Regions from separate parts of the Homo sapiens genome. Here all the other regions are linked to region 1. Evidence: promoter capture Hi-C in 16 types of primary human blood cells and fetal thymus (Javierre and others, 2016). All regions are on one chromosome and are shown on one strand. The core of a region is centred on a gene start or on the middle of the fragment in contact, and the rest is flanking DNA. Distances in the headings are between cores, read along the strand shown. Region 1 holds the start of ACAT1 (acetyl-CoA acetyltransferase 1). Region 2 has its middle 21 kb from the start of EXPH5. Region 3 has its middle 4.7 kb from the start of EXPH5. Region 4 overlaps EXPH5 (exophilin 5).

Region 1 (2,643 bases), core at 144-2,643:
AGCCACCTCAACCAACCTGATTGTAAGATCTTAATTAAACCATAAATTAAGAAGGTTCTGAACTTTTTTTTTTTACATCTCTAGAGTACCTAGTTCACCTATGTCACCTAGTCAATACTGACTGAAACCCAAGATAACCTAATTACTTTCTTGTGATTTCTTCACTCATCCCATGAGACTAACAAATAGGCTAAAAACTCATCTTCCCTGGAAACCTACGCCTTGTGACTTTTCTATTATCTCAGTCACCCAGGATCAATTTTAGACTCTTTCTTTTCCCTTGGCTTCGCACCCTCACTCCCTAATTGTCAAGTCCTAGACTGGTTCTTTTACAATCTCTTGCAAAGCTCCTACCGCCAGCACCCTTGTGCAAGTAATGTTATTCTACGCCCAGACGTAAGAACTAGAGTGACCTACCATTGCAACAAAAACAAACATATCAACAATCCCTACTTAACTAGGGTCAAGTCCATACTCACAACATAACTGGATCTCCAAGCTTATTGCCCCCATCGACCTAGAAAACTCAAGCTTCACCAACCACACCCTGAAGGTCTCTACCTATTCCTGAGGCTTTGCCTGACAATCTGTGGTGCGTACTCCCTTGCTTACGCATGTGGAGAATAAATTCTTTGAGACTCTGCCCCTGCTGTGTTCCCTAAACACAACGGTCAGAAGAGCGACAGCCCTTGGAACGCCCTCAGTATGTGAGCTTTGCTCATATGTCAAGTATAATTTATTGTATTATCTGAGTAGTCATTTGTTTTCCCTGATAAATTTCAGGCTGCTCCAAAAAACATCTGTTATGATCACATGGTGCCCTCTCCCCTTGTATGCCCAATGATTATCTATTGTATTAAAAAAGAAAAGGAACCTCTCCTGACAATAACGCACACAAATATGTTTTAAAGAAAATCTCGGGAGCAGCTGCACAGGCCTGCAAAGAGACTCTCCCCGATCCCACCGCTCAGGCCGGGCCAGCGCCAATCCTGGCGGTCCTGCCCGCCCAGACACGTGCCCTTGTTTGACACACCAGTAACGCTCATTAAGATGATTACGCCGAGACCTTGGAAGTAGAAACGCGCTGTAAAAATAGGCGAGTCCCTGGGTGTTATCGGAGCACTTAGGCGGTTTTTGGACCAGAACCCGTCGCGTGACTGTCCTGGGGCCTAAGCCGCGCGCCCGGGCCGCGGGAGCCGCAACGGCCGCGGGCTGGAAGCTTCCGAGGCGGGGACTCCTCGCATCCCGGGTCTGAGTGCTGTGGGGACGAACCCCGCTCACCTGCACCAGCCTCCGGAGCAGGGGGCTGCGGCTGCGGGCGCCGCTGCGCAGAAGTGCCGCCAGCACAGCCATGGTCGCAGAGGGCTGAGTATCGGCTCCACAGGCGTAGACTAGCGGCCTCCTCCCCAACCCCGCACCCCTAGCGGCCCGGCGCGGGCACCGCCCATCCCGCTTCCTCCAATAGTCGCCTCTCAGTCGGCGGCGATTGGCCGGCAGCCAAGGGCGGGGCGGAGCCTGGCGCTGGGACACCGCAGCCTGGGCCAGGAAAGGTTGACGAGTGAAGGACGTGGATGGAGACACTGGCGCTGGGGTCAACGAGCACCTGACACGCTGCTGGCTCCCGTGTCCACCAAGTCTAACCTGCCGGGGCCGGTGGTTTATGTGTAATCCGAGATTTTTCGATTTACTGAGCATGTTTCCCTTAGGCCTACCCAGCACAAACTCATGAAAATATTTTAGGATTTTTTTTTTTTTTTTTGAGACAAGGTCTCACTCTGTCACCCAAGCTGGAGTGCAGTGACGTGACCACAGCTCACTGTAATCTCGACCATCAGGGCTCAAGCGATCCTCCCTCCCCAGCCATCCCAGTAGCTGAGACTACAGGCGAAAGCCTCCACAACCAGATAATTTTTGTATTTTTTGTGGAGACGGGGTTTCACCATGTTGGCCAGACTGGTCTTGAACTCCTGGACTCAAGTGAGCCTCCCTCCTCGGCCTCCCAAAGTGCTGGGATTACAGGCGCAGGCGACCACGCCCAGCAAATTGTTGTATTTTTTTTTTTTTGTAGAGACTAGGTCTCCCTATGTTGCCTAGGCTGGTTGCTGACTCCTGGGCTCAAGCAGACGGCCAGACTCAGCCTCTCAAAGTGCTGGGATTACAGGCGTGAGCCATCACACCCAGCCGTGAAAATATTTTGAAGCAATCAAATTCCAGGCTCAGTCCAGATACAAATATGGGTAAAAAGGCCTCAGGTGATTCCAGTCCCCAACCTTCAACCACTCCAGCTGAGACCCCAGACATCATGGAGCAGAGACAAGCCATACCCACCATGCTGTCTGAATTCATGGTCCACAGAAACGAGAGAAAACAAATGGTTGTTATTTTAGGCCATTATGTTTTGGAGTATTTTTTTTTTTTAAGATAGGGTCTCGCTCTTGTCACCCAGTCTGGAGTACAGTGGTGCAATCATATCTCACTGCAGCCTCAAACTCCTGGTCTCAGGGGATCCTCCTGTCTCTGCCTCCCAAGTAGCTAGGGGATCCTCCTGTCTCTGCTTCCCAAGTAGCTACGTAGCTAGGACTACAGGCATGCTCCACCATGCTAATTTTTTTAATTTTTATTTTATATAGAGAAGGGGTCTTG
Region 2 (2,643 bases), core at 74-2,573, 490 kb before region 1:
GGTTTCGCCATGTTGCCCAGACTGGTCTTGAACTCCTGGGCTCAAGCAAACAGCCTGTCTTGGCCTCCAAAAGTGCTGGGATTACCGGTGTGAGCCGCCGTGCCCAGCTATTTGCTTTTTAAAATTTATATAATCTTGGGCCGGGCACGGTGGCTCACGCCTGTAATCCCAGCACTTTGGGAGGCCAAAGCAGGCGGATCACAAGGTCAGGAAATCGAGACCATCCTGGCTAACACGGTGAAACCCCATCCCCACTAAAAATACAAAAAATTAGCCAGGTGTGGTGGCGGGCGCCTGTAGTCCCAGCTACTCCGGAGGCTGAGGCAGGAGAATAGCGTGAACCCGGGAGGCGGAGCTTGCAGTGAGCGGAGATCGCGCCACTGCACTCCAGCCTGGGCGAAAGAGTGAGACTCCGTCTCAAAAAAAAAAAAAAAAAAATTAATAAATGCTCTTTATGTACAAATATATTTTAGTTTTATGACCATGGAAGAAATGTCATAAGTATTTTCTCTCACTTCATAAATCTTTTGTATGCATTATTAGGAGTTATATTTATTCCTAAATTAAATATTCACTCAAATAACATGCCCTAAATTATTGTGAATAGCTATTGGAAGTGAGGATGAGAGAAAAAAGTTTTCCCTTGGAAAAGCCTCTCCTAACACAATCAGCATGACAGTTGCTCTTGAGATAACATGAATTCTGTTATCTCGTAAGCAATATAATTGACTAGATAGTAGCAACAAGGAAAAAACCTTTTAAATTTAAAAAAAAGAAGATAAAAAGAAAAAAAAGAGCTTCAAATCACAGAAAAAACCAAAAACTTTAGTTTTGTTTTGTTTTGTTTTGTTTTGTTTTGTTTTGTTTTTGAGACAAAGTCTCACTCTGTCACCCAGGCTGGAGTGCAGTGGCGTGATCTCGGCTCACTGCAACCTCCGCCTCCTGGGTTCAAGCAATTCTCTGCGTCAGCCTCCCAAGTAGCAGGCATTACAGATGCCCACCACCACGCCTGGCTGATTTTTTGTATTTTTAGTAGAGACGGGGTTTCACCGTCTTGGCCAGGCTGGTCTTCAACTCCTGACCTCGTGATCCACCTGCCTCAGCCTCCCAAAGTGCTGGGATTACAGGTGTGAGCCACCACACCCAGCCTTAGTTTTTTTTTTTTTTAAAAAAAGCTTAAAACCTTATTAATATGGCACTGTGTTGATAAGCAAAGCATTTTGCCTGGACTTTGGTAAGAAAGAAATAGGCCACTTGTCTTTTTCAGCCCTTTTCAACCTTTTTGTGTAGACAGCAGCACAACTAAGTTTTCTCAACTAGCTAATAATCTTTAGCAATTTTGGCTTCCCACAAGGTGTCTTCCACACAATAGATGTCCAGGATATAGTTGATGCATGAATAAGTGAATGAATTAATGCACTTCTCAACTTTGACATGCTGGGCTAATGGTAGGCCCTTCACATAAGCTTCTTGAACTGACTTGACACTATCCTTAATACTTCTTTCAGAAGTAGCTTCTTCTCATGCCACCTGTTGACCTGGAGAGTTACTAAATAACCAATACTTGTATATATATCCCTGTAAGTGTGGCCCAGACTAGACTATTGGGTAATGATCTGGGTAGAGTAAGAATAGAGCATAAAACATAATTTCTTCCCCCATTATCAATGGCTATAAGGTCTTTTACCAATTTTAATTTAGTCATCACATAGTGACTGATTGATACGCATTATAAGCGGAAACTTAAAAATCATGACTCATCAGCACAAGTAGGCTATACATGTTCTGCCTGTTCAGTACAATAATAATTCATTTGGCATGTCTTACTGAGCATTAACACAATAATGAAATCTGAATGTATAACAGCTTCTTAAATTTTACTAGTTACATAAGTAAACTGTGTATGATCATCTTAATCTTGTTATTTGTGCACTTTTTTTTAAAGTTTGTTGTGTTTTGTTTTGAGACAGGCTCTCGCTGTGTCACCTACCCTTGACCTCCCAGACTTAAGCCATCCTCCTGCCACAGCCTCATGAGTAGCTGGGAGTAGCTGGGACTACAGGCACACACCATCACATCCAGCTAATTTTTAAAAATTTCTTGTAGAGACAGGGTCTCCCTGTGTTGCCCAGGCTGTTCTTAAACTCTCAGGCTCAACAAATCCTCCTGCCTCAGACTTCCAAAGGGCTGGGATTACAGGCGTGAGCCACCATGCCCAACCTAAAATTACTTTTCATTCTAGAAGTATAAAGGTTTTTGAAGTTTAATCTGATAATAACTTATATAAGAATGAATAGCTTGACTTCTCTGAAATAGAAACTCAGAAACACTTCTGACTTCTCTAAAATATGAACTCACCTGCTGCTGTGTGGCCCCCAGGTTGGGAACCCCTGCTTTAAAGGCTCGTTGGACATCTCCAGTGCTTCTAATCAGAGCACAGCGTGAAATTGCTCCTTTGTCAATGGAAGCAGGGATGTTGAGAAACCTAATGCAGCATTAATATCCACATAAGGCCAGGCACAGTGGCTCATGCCTGTAATCCTAGCACTCTGGGAGGCTGAAGTGGGCAGATTGCCTGAGCCCAGTAGTTCGACACCAGCCTGGGCAACATGGCAAAACCCCGTCTCTACTAAAAATACAAAA
Region 3 (2,643 bases), core at 68-2,567, 480 kb before region 1:
CTGCTTTCTTTACTGATGAGAAGGCTGCCCAGCAACAAACAAAAAGGTTTCTTTTCCAGGTGTTACTTGATGTCTGCACAAGGATTGTTATTGAAAGGGCACTTCTTCTAAACAGAAAGGCAACCACATGGAAGTAGGTAGAATTGCTATAAGGAAGAATGTTCAAAGAGTGAATACTATAAAATGCCAGAACTGGTTATTGAAGTAACATAAAAACTACCAACAATCTTATTTCTGTAAAGCAGTTTAAAGTTCTCAAAGAACTTTCAGAACTGAAGTTTCTTTTTTTAAATCCAGTTAGGTTGTGACATCTACAGAGGTCTTTCATGGTAATATTAAAAGCCTTTATCAAAATATGCACACTGTGATTACAACTGTGTTATGAGTATGCATTTGTATATATGTATATACACAATTGTGATTATAACTATAGCTTTATACACATGCATACATGAGAAAGAACTTTAGAATGATATTAAAATATGGAAACAGTCCTTGAATTAGGATGGTAGGATTACAAATATCTTTTTTTTTTCTTTTACCACTTTGGTGTCATTATGCTACATTTTCAATTTAAAACATTTAATCCTTATGTCATATACGATGTGAGGTGAGTTCTGCCCAGAGGAAAGAGTTCCTCTAGCTTGGAGGCAGGGAGAGAAGAGGTAACATCTGGAAATTCATTTTATTATCCCAGAAGCCAGCCAGGTGTGAGGAGGAAACTGGGCAGAATCCCATTGACCACCTAGCTGGGAAGATCTCTCTCTCTCTCTCTCTCCGTCTCTTTTTCCGGAGGGCTTACCATATGCTACACACTTCCCAGACATTAGCACATTTAATTGCACAATCTTATGAGGTGGAAGGAGGTGAGATGGCTACCCAAGGTCACACAGCTAATAAATAGTGTAGCCAGAGCTTGAACCAAAGATACTGACTCCAAGCCCACGTCCTTAGGATGGAATCTGAACTCCCTTGCTTGGCCTAGCTCCCTTATGTTATCAGGCCCACACTTACTTCTCCAACCTCCTTTTTTATGTCCCTCTTCTGGATATTTACCACGGTCCAGAGACATCAGCCCAGAGCCTGCCAATCTCTCTCCTGCCTCAGCATCTTGGCACTTGCCTCTGCTTGGAAAGCGCTTCTCCTGTGTCTTAGCAAAGCTGGATCCTTGACACCCCTCAGGTCACCGCTTATGTGTCACCTCAGGGTACCCTTCCCAACTACCCCATGTAAGATTATCCCCTCCTCTTCAGACTTACTCTCCACCATATCACTCTGTTAATTTTCTTCATAGCGTTTATCACACGTGGTAAATCTTTTTATTTATTTACTAATGTATTATCTGTCTCTTTCCAAGGAAGTGCAAACTCCCTGAAGACAGAGACCTGTTTGCCTTGGTGCCTCTGCATTTCCAGCACCTGTCACAGAGCCTGACATACAGCAGGTTAAACAAATACTACATGCCCATAACAACTAAGCCCATTATCTGGGCAAGGAATTCTGTGGAATATTTCTTAGATGAAGATGAAGGTTCAAAAAGAACTTATAAATAGCACATACATCTACTTTCTACCCACATTTTATTCAACCAATTTGAGGACATTTGTACACGTAAGTTCTTCACATGTCTGGCTTCTTATCCTTCAGGTTTTAGCTCATATGACATCTCATCATGCGGGTCAGTCTCCAGCCTGACCACTCTGGCTGGAGCCCTCCCTGCATCCCTCCCATTCTCCACCCTGTTTACTTGGTTCACAACACTTATCACACTCTAAATTGATGTTGATTTGTTTATTTATTTATTTTTTAACCTCTATGCATTAGAAGCTAACGTTTTGAGCGCAGGAACATCTTGTCTACACAGCTCCTAGAACATTTCCCAATGGATAGTAGACATTCCATAAATATTTTTTGAATGAAGCCACACATGGCCACTAATTCGTACTCCTTCTTTAGTTCTAATAGTTTTTGTGGTTTTTTTTAACAAATTTCTTTGGTCTTTTTCCTAAGTAGATAATTATCATCTATGATCAATTTTCTCTTTTCTAAGAGTTACACCACATTGTTTTTTTCCTTCCCTATTGTATCAACTAGAACTACCAGAACAATGTTACACAAGACAGGGAATAGCAGGTACCTCTGATTTGTTGTTACTTCACAGACTCACCATTAATTATAATACTGGTGTTGTCTGGGACAGACATTCCTTGCCACATCAAGGAAAAATCCTTTCTAAAGGATTACCAAGTATTTTTAAATTTAGCTCAATTTAGTTTAGTCCTAACAAAAAGCAATCTTGAATTTTATCAGAGAACTTTTGATAATAATGTGTTATTACTTTGATCTAATGATAAAGCAAACTATGTTAATATTTAAATCACCTGAGGTCAGGAATTCAAGATCAGCCGTCCAACATAGTGAAACTCCTTCTTTAATAAAAATACAAAAATTAGCTGGGTGCGGTGGCGTGCGCCTGTAATCCCACCTAATTGGGAGGCTGAGGAAGGAGAATCATTTGAACCCTGGAGGCGGAGATTGCAGTGAGCTGAGATTGAGCCACTGCACTCCAGCCTGGCCAACAGAGTGAGACTCCATCTCAAGAAAAATAAAAATAAAAATAAAAAAATCAGACATTCAAGCAAG
Region 4 (2,643 bases), core at 52-2,551, 440 kb before region 1:
GGAGTAGGATCATATGTTACAGTACAGAGATGCAGTGGTGGAATACTGACATAGCATAGCATTCTTAATGTAATGCTAAGTGGGAAACATAGACTACACAAAGCATGCATAGGGTAAGAGCATTTTTTGAAAATGCAGGCATACATAACTGACATGTGGAGCAAGTAGGAATCATGGAATATAACAAGAAAACATCTTTAGTTTTGTCTCTTACTATCCTTTTATTTCTTTTTTATTTTTTTAGACCGTCTTGTTCTGTCACCCAGGCTGGAGTGTAGTGGTGCGATCTCAGCTCACTGCAACCTCTGCCTCCTGGGTTCAAGCGATTCTCCTGCCTCAGCCTCCTGAATAACTGGGGTTACAGATGCCCACCACCATGCCCAGCTAATTTATTTTTTTTTGTATTTTTAGTAGAGACAGGGTTTCACCATGTTGGCCAGGCTGACCTCGAACTCCTGACCTCAAGTGATCCGTCCGCCTCAGCCTCCCAAAGTTCTAGGATTACAGGCATGAGCCACCGTGTGCAGCCGTCTCCTACTATCCCTTTAAATGCCACTGGATACAAACAAAGGCAGTCCCTTGACTTTTCTGGTCACTTTAAGACACAAACACAGTCTCAATTCAGAGATAATTAGAACATACGGTCCTAGATTAATCCCAGCTTTATTCAGAGGAGCAGCCCCTCACACAGCCACCGCTTGCTGCAGAGCGACGCCTAGGACAGTGAAGAGGATTTGATCCTTTTCCCTTTCCCCATCAACCTCTGCCTCTCCACCCCTTCAGTGGTGGTTTTTTACTGTTCCAGGGTTGAACCGGACGGTGGCTGGGAGGCAGGTTTAAGTTTGGATGGAAGGCACATGCAGAAAAGCTGTTGCTTGACTAGAATGGTTGTGAGGTGGCATCACTCTCTCTGGGTAGGGCAGATGTTTAAATCTGCCTCTTCTCTTGTGTGCTCGTCTGGGGTTTGCTGAGATGGCCCGTGGCCCGGCACTGTTCCCCAGCAGCTCTTTCCATGCAGATAATGTGCTCTCCCCTGCTCTGTGCTAGGAATCCAGGGGTTCACCCACAACCTCTTTCTACTCAGGTTTATTCACCCCTGGAGCTGACTCTAGCAGGCATGAACTAAGAGAACCCCATGCCTCCTCAGCCTCTCCTGGGGCCCACATCTTCTCCACGGGACACAGTCATACTGTGGTTGCTTGAGAAACCCTGGAAATGAGGGCTGATTGACAGCTGAGCTATGCACTTCATTCTGCAGTCAAAGCAACTGGCAGGCCCCAGTTTCTCCAGCTCAAATTTCTCAGGCAGGAGGCAGATACCAGTCTACCTTTCCTCCAAACCACAAGGGACAAAATTAAGCTCTTCCAGTCGTACCAGTTAAGCTCCCTGGCTCTAGAGAAAGCCTCCTCACAGATCCTCCCTCTGTCTTCACTCTTCCAAGTCAATGCATGTAAGGGGACTTAAACCCTAACTAGAGAGATTTGGCTTTTGTTTGTTTTTAAAAATCCCACAAAGCAAGTTCTCCTGATTGGTCTTCTCACAACTCCCTTAGATGTCTTGAATCTCTTGCTTTCATGCTTTAGCTAAAACTGAGTCAGAGTCCTAGTCCTGTGACTACTGCTTTAAAACACATGAATGAACATATGTACACACACAGCAGTATCTCTGACAGTGGGAGTTATGAGTGATTTCTTTTATTCAAGTTTTTGTTTGTTTGTTTGTTTTAAATGGAGACAGGATCTCACCATGTTGCCCAGGCTGGCCTTGAACTCCTGGGCTCACTTGATCCTCCTGCCTCGGCCTCCCAAAGTGTTGGGATTACAGGTGTGAGCCACCATGCCCGGCCCCTTCAAGTTTTTTCTTTAATTTCCAAGTCTTTTGCATTGAATGTAATTTTACTTTCTTTCTTTCTTTTTTTGAAACAGCGTCTTGCTCTGCTGCCAAGTCTGGAGTGCAGTGGTGCGATCTCAGCTCACTGCAACCTCTCCCTCCCAGATTCAAGCAATTCTTCCACCTCAGCCTCTCTAGTAGCTGGGACTACAGGTATGCACCAGCATACCCAGCTAATTTTTGTATTCTTTTTTTTTGTTGTTGTTTAGTAGAGAACGGGTTTCTCCATGTTGGCTAGGCTGGTCTCAAACTCCTGACCTCAAGTGATCCACCACCTCGACCTCCCAAAGTGCTGCGATTATAGGCGTGAGCCACCCAGCCCGGCCTGATGTAATTTTACTTTCACAATTACAAAAAAAAAAAAAAAAAAACACAGAAAAAATTGTATAATGGCAAAGCAAAGTCAGTTTTATTGACATTTGAAATTTCCTGTCCCAATCAATGCTGGAGAATTCCTCTGTGAACAAATTCCTACATGCTGCTTATGGCTGGATGTTTTCATTATGTTCTTTCAGGTGACAAGGAACATAGAGCAGTTTCCTCAAGGGATGGGTGGCACTTTATTGTCAGGATCTAATGGAGAAGTAAGGAAACACAGGAAACGGCCTCAACCCTGCACGGCCAGTCCTCAGGAACCGGAATGTTGATCAGAATACTGCAGCATTCTGGTGCCAATCAATCAACCAGGCTAGTAACCACAGGCTTGTGGTCCAGCTTCTCTGTTCTGCTTCTCCCTACTCACTTCCATTGCCA

Evidence for each region. Contacts are between HindIII fragments. The CHiCAGO score rates a contact against its expected background, and 5 or more counts as called.
Region 2: a contact is called between a fragment that was not itself captured here and the fragment with the promoter of ACAT1 in region 1, in 4 of 17 cell types (total CD4 T cells, megakaryocytes, naive B cells and 1 more). The highest score is 6.6, in total CD4 T cells.
Region 3: a contact is called between a fragment that was not itself captured here and the fragment with the promoter of ACAT1 in region 1, in 1 of 17 cell types (naive CD4 T cells). The highest score is 5.9, in naive CD4 T cells.
Region 4: a fragment that was not itself captured here is called in contact with the fragment with the promoter of ACAT1 in region 1 in 1 of 17 cell types (total CD4 T cells); the score reaches 5.3 in total CD4 T cells.

The regions. Positions count from the first base shown.
Region 1 is chr11:108,120,317-108,122,959 of GRCh38, reverse strand. It overlaps ACAT1 (acetyl-CoA acetyltransferase 1), which reads right to left and starts at 1,393. Exons shown (of 12, transcript NM_000019.4): 1 at 1,282-1,393. The coding sequence starts at 1,353. RefSeq lists silencers at 1,182-1,591, 1,193-1,731. The HindIII fragment of the contact is 9,706 bases long and covers 1,222-2,643 here.
Region 2 is chr11:108,613,420-108,616,062 of GRCh38, reverse strand. No RefSeq gene overlaps it. Among named protein-coding and RNA genes, the nearest start is that of EXPH5, 21 kb to the right of the region's middle. The HindIII fragment of the contact is 291 bases long and covers 1,178-1,468 here.
Region 3 is chr11:108,597,171-108,599,813 of GRCh38, reverse strand. It overlaps a transcript of EXPH5 not described here. Among named protein-coding and RNA genes, the nearest start is that of EXPH5, 4.7 kb to the right of the region's middle. The HindIII fragment of the contact is 5,941 bases long and covers 1-2,643 here.
Region 4 is chr11:108,561,884-108,564,526 of GRCh38, reverse strand. All of the region lies in intron 1 of EXPH5 (exophilin 5), which reads left to right. Among named protein-coding and RNA genes, the nearest start is that of EXPH5, 31 kb to the left of the region's middle. RefSeq lists an enhancer at 1,254-1,363. The HindIII fragment of the contact is 4,444 bases long and covers 1-2,643 here.